Linked DNA regions of Homo sapiens: region 1 is linked to region 2. The links are contacts of gene promoters, found by promoter capture Hi-C in blood cells and fetal thymus (Javierre and others, 2016). All regions are on one chromosome and are shown on one strand. The core of a region is centred on a gene start or on the middle of the fragment in contact, and the rest is flanking DNA. Distances in the headings are between cores, read along the strand shown. Region 1 overlaps NAV3 (neuron navigator 3). Region 2 holds the start of PAWR (pro-apoptotic WT1 regulator).

Region 1 (4,481 bases), core at 1,904-4,403, 1.7 Mb after region 2:
AGGCAGAGATTTTTTTAAAAAATCTTTGTATCTTCTGTTACACAGTATTTGTAGAATGAGGGATGAGTACATAAATGAAAAAGTATGCAGCAATTTCCCTTTGCTTAAACTGTAATAACTGGTCACTTTGCCACTTTTTAAATACTTCAGATGGCCATCTTAACACTATAAAAAGCAGCCTATTCCAATTTCAGGTAGCTCTAGTTATCAGGAACTTCTTAAACCAAAATAAAATATTTTCTTTAATTCTTGACATTTTGTCTTAGTTATATCTATTTGATAAATGAATAAGAATAACAGCAAATTTGAAACTACTTTATCACTCTGTAGAGATAATTGAATTACTGAAACTATGTACAGAATAATTTATATTAGATAGGAAGTTAGGCTAATAGGAAATCTATTAACTTCCAGAATCCACATTATATTTATAGAACTCTGAACACCCAGTGTGTGACAAAGAGTACTATGAAGCATTTATTGAAGTCTCAGAAGGAATAAGTACTGACCTAGAATTGAGAAAAAAAGTCACCATCAGCCATCAATCTTCCCATTATATAAAAGTTATTTAATTATATTTACATATCATATATATATGTATCTGTATACATTTATATAATTTATACTAATTAACAGCAATTACCATTTTCAATTATAAATGAGTTCTGATTGAGAATTTTGCAAGTGTACTATTGGCATTTTCCTAACCAGAATTTTCTCAGTAACAATACCTCTTATTTCTGTCACATAGATAGAACTGATAAGCAAAGCAAATTTCTACTAGCTTTATGATCTGAAGAGATTATTACTATTCTGACTTAATATCTCTGCTTCTTCATTTCTGGAAAATGGGGGATGACATTTTTTCTCATGAGTTCATGATGAAGTTTAAATGAGAAAATTCACATATATTTTGTGACACAAAGATTTTCACTAAGTAAGCACTCAACAAATGATAATACCAACATCAAAAAGTAAATTATTAGTCTTATCTCATCAAATGATTAGCAACTCCAAAAATAATTGTCAGGGATTTTATAGGAGGGATTCTTACATGGGGATAGAACAGTGAAAGTCAGAAAGAACATAAAAGGTTACATAATCCAAATGTCATGACTCTATAAACAAGCTTTTACTGAAAGCTGAAAAGAATGAATATTAACCACTCTGCCTTTTGAGGATTTACATATTATTTGTAAAATTGTTCTGCATTGATTTAAAAACTTTGAATGAATATTACTTTATATATAGACTTCAATGTGAAATTTTATGAGACAGTTTTAATTTATTTATTTATTGTAGAAACAGGGTCTTGCTCTGGTGTACAGGCTGGTCTCAAAGTCCTGGCCTCAAGTCATCCTCCCACCTTGGCCTCCCAAAATGCTGGGATTACAGGCATGAGCCACCATGCCAACCATAGTTTCATTTATTTTTAGCTATCTTATATTGTTGATAATAATAAAAATAATTACTGATATTCATGTAATTTGCTCAAAATCTGGCTGTGTGCTAAAAATTTTACATGGGATTATTTTCTTTAATCTTTCATACAATCAATCGAGGTAGGCATCCTTTATCAATCATACTTTATAGGATTAGAAAGTGAAGTTTAGGGAAGGCTGTTTACTATGTGGCAGATACTGTTCTACAGATAAATATCAACTCAATCTTCAAAATAGGCTAATGAGGTAGCTTCTACAATTATCATACCTATTTCACAGATTAGGAAATTGTGGGTCAGAATCTTTACATATATGACCCAAAGTAACACAACTGATCAGTGGTGGCATTGAGATTCCCACCTAGGCAACCACCACCACAAGATGCTGTTTCTGAACAATGGTAGAGTAAGACATATTCTATCGCCCTTTTTTTCTCTTTTTTTTTTTTTTTTTTTTTTTTTTGAGTTTCCCTCTTGTTACCCAGGCTGCAGTGCAAATGCACGATCTCAGCTCACTGCAACCTCTGCCACCTCCTGGGTTCAAGCGATTCTCCTCCTGCTTCAGCCTCTCTAATGCCTCTTTTCTTAGCTACTTGGCTACACTGCCTCACTTTTATAGTCTTGTTGTTAAAGAGGTCAAACAGAAACTCAAAGAGTTTCTCAAAGAACTCATCAGGTTCACACAGCGGATCCACACTGTAACTTCTAAGCTGTGCTGCTGTGCTGCTTCCTGTTTTTGATATTTAAAAGTTACATTTTCAAATGGAAACCACTAAATTTGTTTCCACTGGATATTTTATTGCAAACAATTTTTTTAAAAGCTTGTTGCTACTTATAGAAAGAAGCCTACTAAATTAGCAGTTCTAGATTTACACTTTCCTATGAAATTCACTTGTGATTTTTTGAAAGGATTGATGTTTTTACAGAATATATTTGTAATCCAAAAGTGTGCTGAGTATGACATATTTAAAACTTCATGATTTTTTTTCTCACGTTTTTGAAATGTGGATCATGATTTTGACATCTTAAATTCTGCTTTGTCAAACAGGGACCCTGGAGTCAGAAGGAGCTGCAGACTCCCATCTGATCCAAATACAAGTATTTTAAATGAGTTAGTACTATTGAAGTCAGAATAGCAACATTCAATTGTAATGTCCCAAGAGCTTAAATGTAATAATTATAATAATTTTGTTTTGCTGAGTGTATAAAAAACCTCAGAAAAAAAGCACTTACATTCCTCATTGAGCAAAAAAATAAATCAGTATAAACTGCTTTATTTTAAAAACTTTTACATTCAAAAAATTTAATAAAATTTTAAACTATATAGTTTTGACCCTTTCTTAATTATAGTGGGTCCTGCTTCCTATTCATAAAATTTTCTTTCTGTAGTTAAATTGCCAACCTGCCCGAAAGAGGGACAAAGCAGACATTATTGCTCCCCAGGCCATCTCCTTACCAACCAAGCAGTGAATAAACTGGGGACACAGCAGTTACTGACATATCTCTAATCGATTAAAACAAATCACAGAACAACAAGCAAAGTGTTGTCTTTACCATTTGGATGGTAGGATGCATATTTTAAAATGCATAATAATGCATTTAAAAATTTTATATTGTGTATTTCAATGCCTACAAAATAAGAATGCAAAGTAAAATAAACAATAAATAAATAAAAGGTAAAAAAAAAACAAATCAGTAATACAACCCAAATAAGTAATACAAATTATATATGTAACCCCTTTTACCTAGAAACCTATGCCTTGCTGTGGGAAATTAATATAAAATTTACACTGAGAAAGTAATATCTTATAAATAACATTTGAAGAACATTTGCAACACATCAGGATATACAGTAAACATGTTATATGCATGACCTCTGTTAATAGTCTCAACTCTACAAAGTAGTGCATGGTTCCTATTTGACAGCTGAAGAAAATGAGACTAAAGAATGTTAAGTAACTTTCCCAATGTCTTATAGCTGAAAAGTGGCAGAACTAGGAATGAAATCCGCAACTTTATCATTTCAGAGGCTGCCTCTTTAACCATTATGGTATACTTTCTCCCAAAGATGACAACAAAAATAACCGTAAACGATGTAAAAGTGAGAATTATTTTAAAAGTCTGCCGCTAGTAATAGAAGCAGTATAGTAGTAGCAATAATATGAATAAACACAAGAGAAAGTTGTGGCATCTGGTTTCTAGCTGGCTTTTGATAACAAGTAATTCAATTTTTGAAGGTCTCAATTGCTGACAGGGAATGAGAGAGGGAATAAAACTAGATCCTACTGGAAGTCTTTTTCCAGACTAAGATTCCGCACTGAATTCTAGGCCTCTATCTTTAGCATGAAACTTTACTCCAAAATGACGACATAAAGCACCACTTTATCAGCCTTCCCTATTACACTCTGAGTATGTAGGCCTGTAAATATATTTACAACTGTGGATAAACAGAGGCCACCTTACCTGTAAATGAATGGTGCCACTGTCGCGGTATTCGGGTGGCTATGTTGCTGCTGTTGAGGGAGTTGGACAGCACCATTTCCTGTGCTCTGCCCACTGCTTTGTGCCACTGTCATGGTACAGGAACCAGAAGGAGAAGCTTGGCCAGCTTCCCTTCCTTCCAAAGGGGCAGGACAACTAGAAGCACTTGCTTTCTCCATGGTTATAGGCTTAGATAAGGACTGGGAAGGGCTCCCCTTGGTAGTCCTGAATTTCTCAGACTCTTTGCTTGCTGTGCTGCCAGGTGAAATGGTTTGCTTTACTGTTGGAACTTTAGAGCCTGGTTTTGGAATACCACTGGAAGACGGAATTAAGCTTTCCTTCTTAGCTGCTGTTGTCTTGCTGCCCTTAGGGATCAAGCTTGCAATTTTGGAGGTCTTTTTTGGAGCCATCTCTGTCACCTGATCCTTCTCTTCTTTGACTGGTTTTTCAGTGCAAACTTTATTTTTGTCCCTGTTCTTTTCTTCTTTTTCCTTTGGCTGTAGCAAAGACTTTTTATTGCTGAGATTTTTGCTTCCAGCTTTTGGAGGGGCCAACTTAG
Region 2 (4,435 bases), core at 627-3,126:
AGCCCCTAGAAGGGACTATGTTTACTGAGTGCCTTCCTCGAATCAAGCACATTTTATGTGCAGTGTCAGTTCTTAAGACAGCTTAAATATAATGTAATTGGGAGGCTGAGAGCAGGAGAATTGCTTGAACTCAGGAGGCGGAGGTTGCAGTGAGCTGAGATCCCGCCACTGCACTCCAGCCTGGCGACAGAGCGAGACTCCGCCTCAAAAAAAAAAAAAATGTAATTTTTGCTGATTTTATAGTACAGAAAGCTGAGTACCAGATAATGTAAACATGCCCAAGATCTCTCAGCTAGCTGACTATACCCTCTTTCCACTATATCCTGCAGCCCTTCCAGGAGAAAAGTCCTCTGATAAGTTACAAAGCATATGAATGTGAATACGTTTAATGTCCCAGCCTCCCTTACTCTCCTTAAAACTCAGAAAACAAACTAATGAATATGTAATTGAGAAACTTCAGGTGGCACACTGGGGTTGGTACTAGCTTAGGTAAACAGCCGCTCAGCCTTTTAGACCTATTCCCAACAAAAGCTTTTAATTTTCTAAGGATTTTTCCAGAGCTCTCGCCATACGTTTCCCACAACAGCCAGACCAAAGACCAAAACTGTCTTTCCCTGAGAAATATAGAGCATGTGAATCACTTTCTTCTGTTCCCAGTTCTGTGGCAGGCAAACACTGATTGCTCACTCATCATGTGCTACCTGGGCAAAACAGGAATATTAAGTAGGAAGAAAGGTTTATGTTAGGTAAGAGCGTGACTTAGGGCTCTCCTACTTTTTTACAAAATGGAGACCTGGCATTTGTAGCCTCCCACAATGATGTGCCCTGACATTACTTGGATATAGAAAGGTCAGTCTTAGGTGCGTCAGTGACAGCCCACCCCGCTCTGATCCAGAAATTTCAGATGACTTGCATCAGAGGATAAGCCTCTGGCATGTTAATAATGAAAAAATAGAGACAATCACTGCCCCAGCTCATCTCAAATTAGCATCAGTGCAGCGTTAGTACTTTGGTAGGGAGCTTTGCTGCTAAATTCATTCTCTGTAAAGAGGAGAGGCAGAGACAGGGTTAAGGGGAAAACTCCAAGACTGGAATCGCCAATACAATAAACTGTCGAACTGAGTTTTTTCTCCCGCAACCCTAAGATACTAGTAAGTCCTTCCTCTTAGCCAACCCTTTTCACCAGGGCACCGCAGTTTTCTTAGAAGGAGGGTGCTGGGTTTGTCTCAGGTCTTTCTATTCTCCTGCCCGCTGCCCTAGTACATCTGAAAAGGGAGCAGCGACTAGGAAAAGAGACACGTGGGTATTTTCCCATCCTGTCTAGTCATTCCCTGAATCATCACAAGTTATCGCACTTTTCCCCTTAGCCAGCAGCGTTCGAGACTTTCTCTCAAATAATACGGTCTTGTACTTAAAAGGAAGAGTGGTGGGAGAAGAGAGAGGCGGAGAAGACAAGCAAGAAGGGCGTGGAGTGCCGTTCCCGCCCCGGAGTCGGAGGCGCCGGGAGGCCGGACGCCGCGAAGCTGCTAGCCCAGGAATGTGCCGTCTAACTCGCAGGCCGCGGGCGGAGCGCGGCGGGCGCGCTGTGGTCTGCGGCGGGAGCGGGGCAGAGGACGGCTGGCGCAGGGCAGGCTGCAGCGGCGGGCCGGACGCGACGCCGCGCACCTGAGCGCCGGGGGCGGGGCGTCAGCGGCCACGACCCTTCCCACCGCGCGCCGCGCCCCTCGCGCGCCGCCTCGGCCTTTTCCGCTCGTGCTTCGGCGCCGCTCGGCTCCCTTCCCGCCCCTGGCTCCCTCCCTCCCTCCCTCCCTCCTTCTTCTCCCTCCCTCCTGTCCTGGGATTGCCTGGAGCTCCGCACCGCGAGTTTGCCGCGGCACTTTCCGCGCGGCGGAAGAGCGCGCGCCAGCTTCGGCACACCTGGGAGCCGGATCCCAGCCCTACGCCTCGTCCCCTACAAGCTCCTCCAAGGTAAGGCGCTCGCTCACACCCGGTCCTTTCCACGCTCGGCGGGACAGCTGGGTCCCCGCCTCCTCTGCGAACCGGCTAGGAGCTCCGCGCCTCGCCTTGGGAGTGGGGTTGTAGCTGACGGGGACCTCGGACCGGCGGTGGCTAGAGCGCGGAGCAGGCGATACGACGAGCCGACAGGTGGCGGGTCTAGCCCTAGTATCTCGACCGCCGCCGGCGCGGACCTTGGTGGGGATGGGGCGGGCGGGCCGACTTGGGGGTGGGGTCAGTCCTCTCTCCTCCCTTCTAGGGGCGGCGATCGTCGGGGTCCGTACTGTAGGTGCGTGGGAGAAACTTTGCAGGGTGGGGACCCGGCGGCTGCTGGCCGGTAGTGACTGGTGGGCGCGCTCGAGGACTCCAAGGGGCGCAGCCCGGGGGCAGACCCTTGGGTCGGGCGGGGATCTTACGCTTCCCTTACCCGCCCCCTTTTGTCTTTCACCTCAGCCCCGCCGGCTGCTGTGGGAGCGGCGGCCGTCCCTCTCCTGGAGGTCGTCTCCTGGCATCCTCGGGGCCGCAGGAAGGAAGAGGAGGCAGCGGCCGGAGCCCTGGTGGGCGGCCTGAGGTGAGAGCCCGACCGGCCCCTTTGGGAATATGGCGACCGGTGGCTACCGGACCAGCAGCGGCCTCGGCGGCAGCACCACAGACTTCCTGGAGGAGTGGAAGGCGAAACGCGAGAAGATGCGCGCCAAGCAGAACCCCCCGGGCCCGGCCCCCCCGGGAGGGGGCAGCAGCGACGCCGCTGGGAAGCCCCCCGCGGGGGCTCTGGGCACCCCGGCGGCCGCCGCTGCCAACGAGCTCAACAACAACCTCCCGGGCGGCGCGCCGGCCGCACCTGCCGTCCCCGGTCCCGGGGGCGTGAACTGCGCGGTCGGCTCCGCCATGCTGACGCGGGCGGCCCCCGGCCCGCGGCGGTCGGAGGACGAGCCCCCAGCCGCCTCTGCCTCGGCTGCACCGCCGCCCCAGCGTGACGAGGAGGAGCCGGACGGCGTCCCAGAGAAGGGCAAGAGCTCGGGCCCCAGTGCCAGGAAAGGCAAGGGGCAGATCGAGAAGAGGAAGCTGCGGGAGAAGCGGCGCTCCACCGGCGTGGTCAACATCCCTGCCGCAGAGGTGAGCCGGGCGGGGGCCGCAGCCGGACCGGGCCGGGGCGGGCAGCTGCCTCCCGGTGTCTTCCTCCTGGGAGCTACCCGGGGCGCAGAGTTTACCTCCCCTGGCTCGTACTTGTCCCTTCACCGAGTTAGGCAGGCAGGGGGTGATGGAGTTTTACTCTGAACAAATGCTTCCTGGGAAGTTCCCCAAACTCAGAGTAGGACACGTGCTTTTCAGGCTTCCTGGCCAGGTCTCAGATCCAGGATCCTTTTTTACCGTGGTAGAAAGACAACTTATGGCTCCAGGACTTGCCCACCTGGACTTGGCTGACTTGGCCACCTGGACTTGGCTGTTTATGCTTGATCAGTTAGAAAAATTGATTAATGGTGACGACATTCTCTAGGGTCTCACGTGCCCATGTGAAGTTACCAGTTTATTTCTCCTTTCTTACCAATGTTTAATAACATCTGTAAAGAAAATGTTGCCTTAGCAATATCCAAGACAGCTTTATCTTACAGTGAGCTCAAGATGAGTATATCCAAATGAATACGTGCACTATTTTATATATAAATCAGCTGTTTATAAGTTGTGCTCCTAAACACACAGTGTTTTTCTGAGTGATACTTAGGACAATAGGGATGATTTAGTAACCCACAATTCTGTTCGCTAAGACGATCTCTTTTTGAGTACTGTGTCTGAAAAACATGTGGTAGGGTTTTTGTTTGTTTTGGGTTGTTTGCAGTTTGGAGCATTTTCGAAACGTTACAGGTAGCAGCATCTTCCATTAGAGTGACTGGTAAAACATTTTTACTAAGTGTATAATCACACCTCCCTCTACCAGAAACAAGACAAAACAATCTCAAACAAGTTTTGATTACTTTGATAGTAGCTCATGGATTTGAGGAAGTGGTTCAACTACCTTGTTTCACCTAAAATAGTTGCATCTTTTTCTCATTGACTGTTTAGCTTTCACTTTTTCTTCTCCTGGCTTTCTAATTTTACTCAACTTTAATTGTGGTTTAAGTAGAAGCATTTGCAATAAGTTAGGGTGTATATTAAATATACCTAAATTTTTAGTATTATGATTTCCATACCTGTTAAATCATAGTGTGTCTTTGTAGGACGTATTTATATGAGCGTTTCAGAGATTTTTATCAGCCAGCAAAACTGTCCTCTGCGGTTTGCTACTTGCACAAAAGATCTGTTATTCATTAAATTGCTTTAGAAGGAATTCGTAAGAGTGGTAATCAAATTTCTAGGTGTTTTTTTTTTTTTTTTTTTTAGTTAAAAATATGAAGATTAAGGGGAAATTGAAGACAAGGCTTTGGAAAAGCTACATTCCTCA

What was found. The method cuts DNA at HindIII sites, captures the fragments that hold promoters and counts their contacts. A CHiCAGO score of 5 or more calls a contact.
Region 1: a fragment that was not itself captured here is called in contact with the fragment with the promoter of PAWR in region 2 in 1 of 17 cell types (total B cells); the score reaches 5.1 in total B cells.

Annotation. Positions count from the first base shown.
Region 1 is chr12:78,006,869-78,011,349 of GRCh38, reverse strand. NAV3 (neuron navigator 3) reads right to left here. Exons shown (of 40, transcript NM_001024383.2): 8 at 3,905-4,481. Among named protein-coding and RNA genes, the nearest start is that of NAV3, 180 kb to the right of the region's middle. The HindIII fragment of the contact is 1,778 bases long and covers 2,265-4,042 here.
Region 2 is chr12:79,688,405-79,692,839 of GRCh38, reverse strand. PAWR (pro-apoptotic WT1 regulator) reads left to right here and starts at 1,876. Exons shown (of 7, transcript NM_002583.4): 1 at 1,876-1,968; 2 at 2,449-3,111. The coding sequence starts at 2,596. It overlaps PPP1R12A-AS2 (PPP1R12A antisense RNA 2), which reads right to left and starts at 2,808. Exons shown (of 7, transcript NR_187531.1): 1 at 2,444-2,808. RefSeq lists silencers at 1,579-1,878, 2,649-3,168. The HindIII fragment of the contact is 6,027 bases long and covers 534-4,435 here.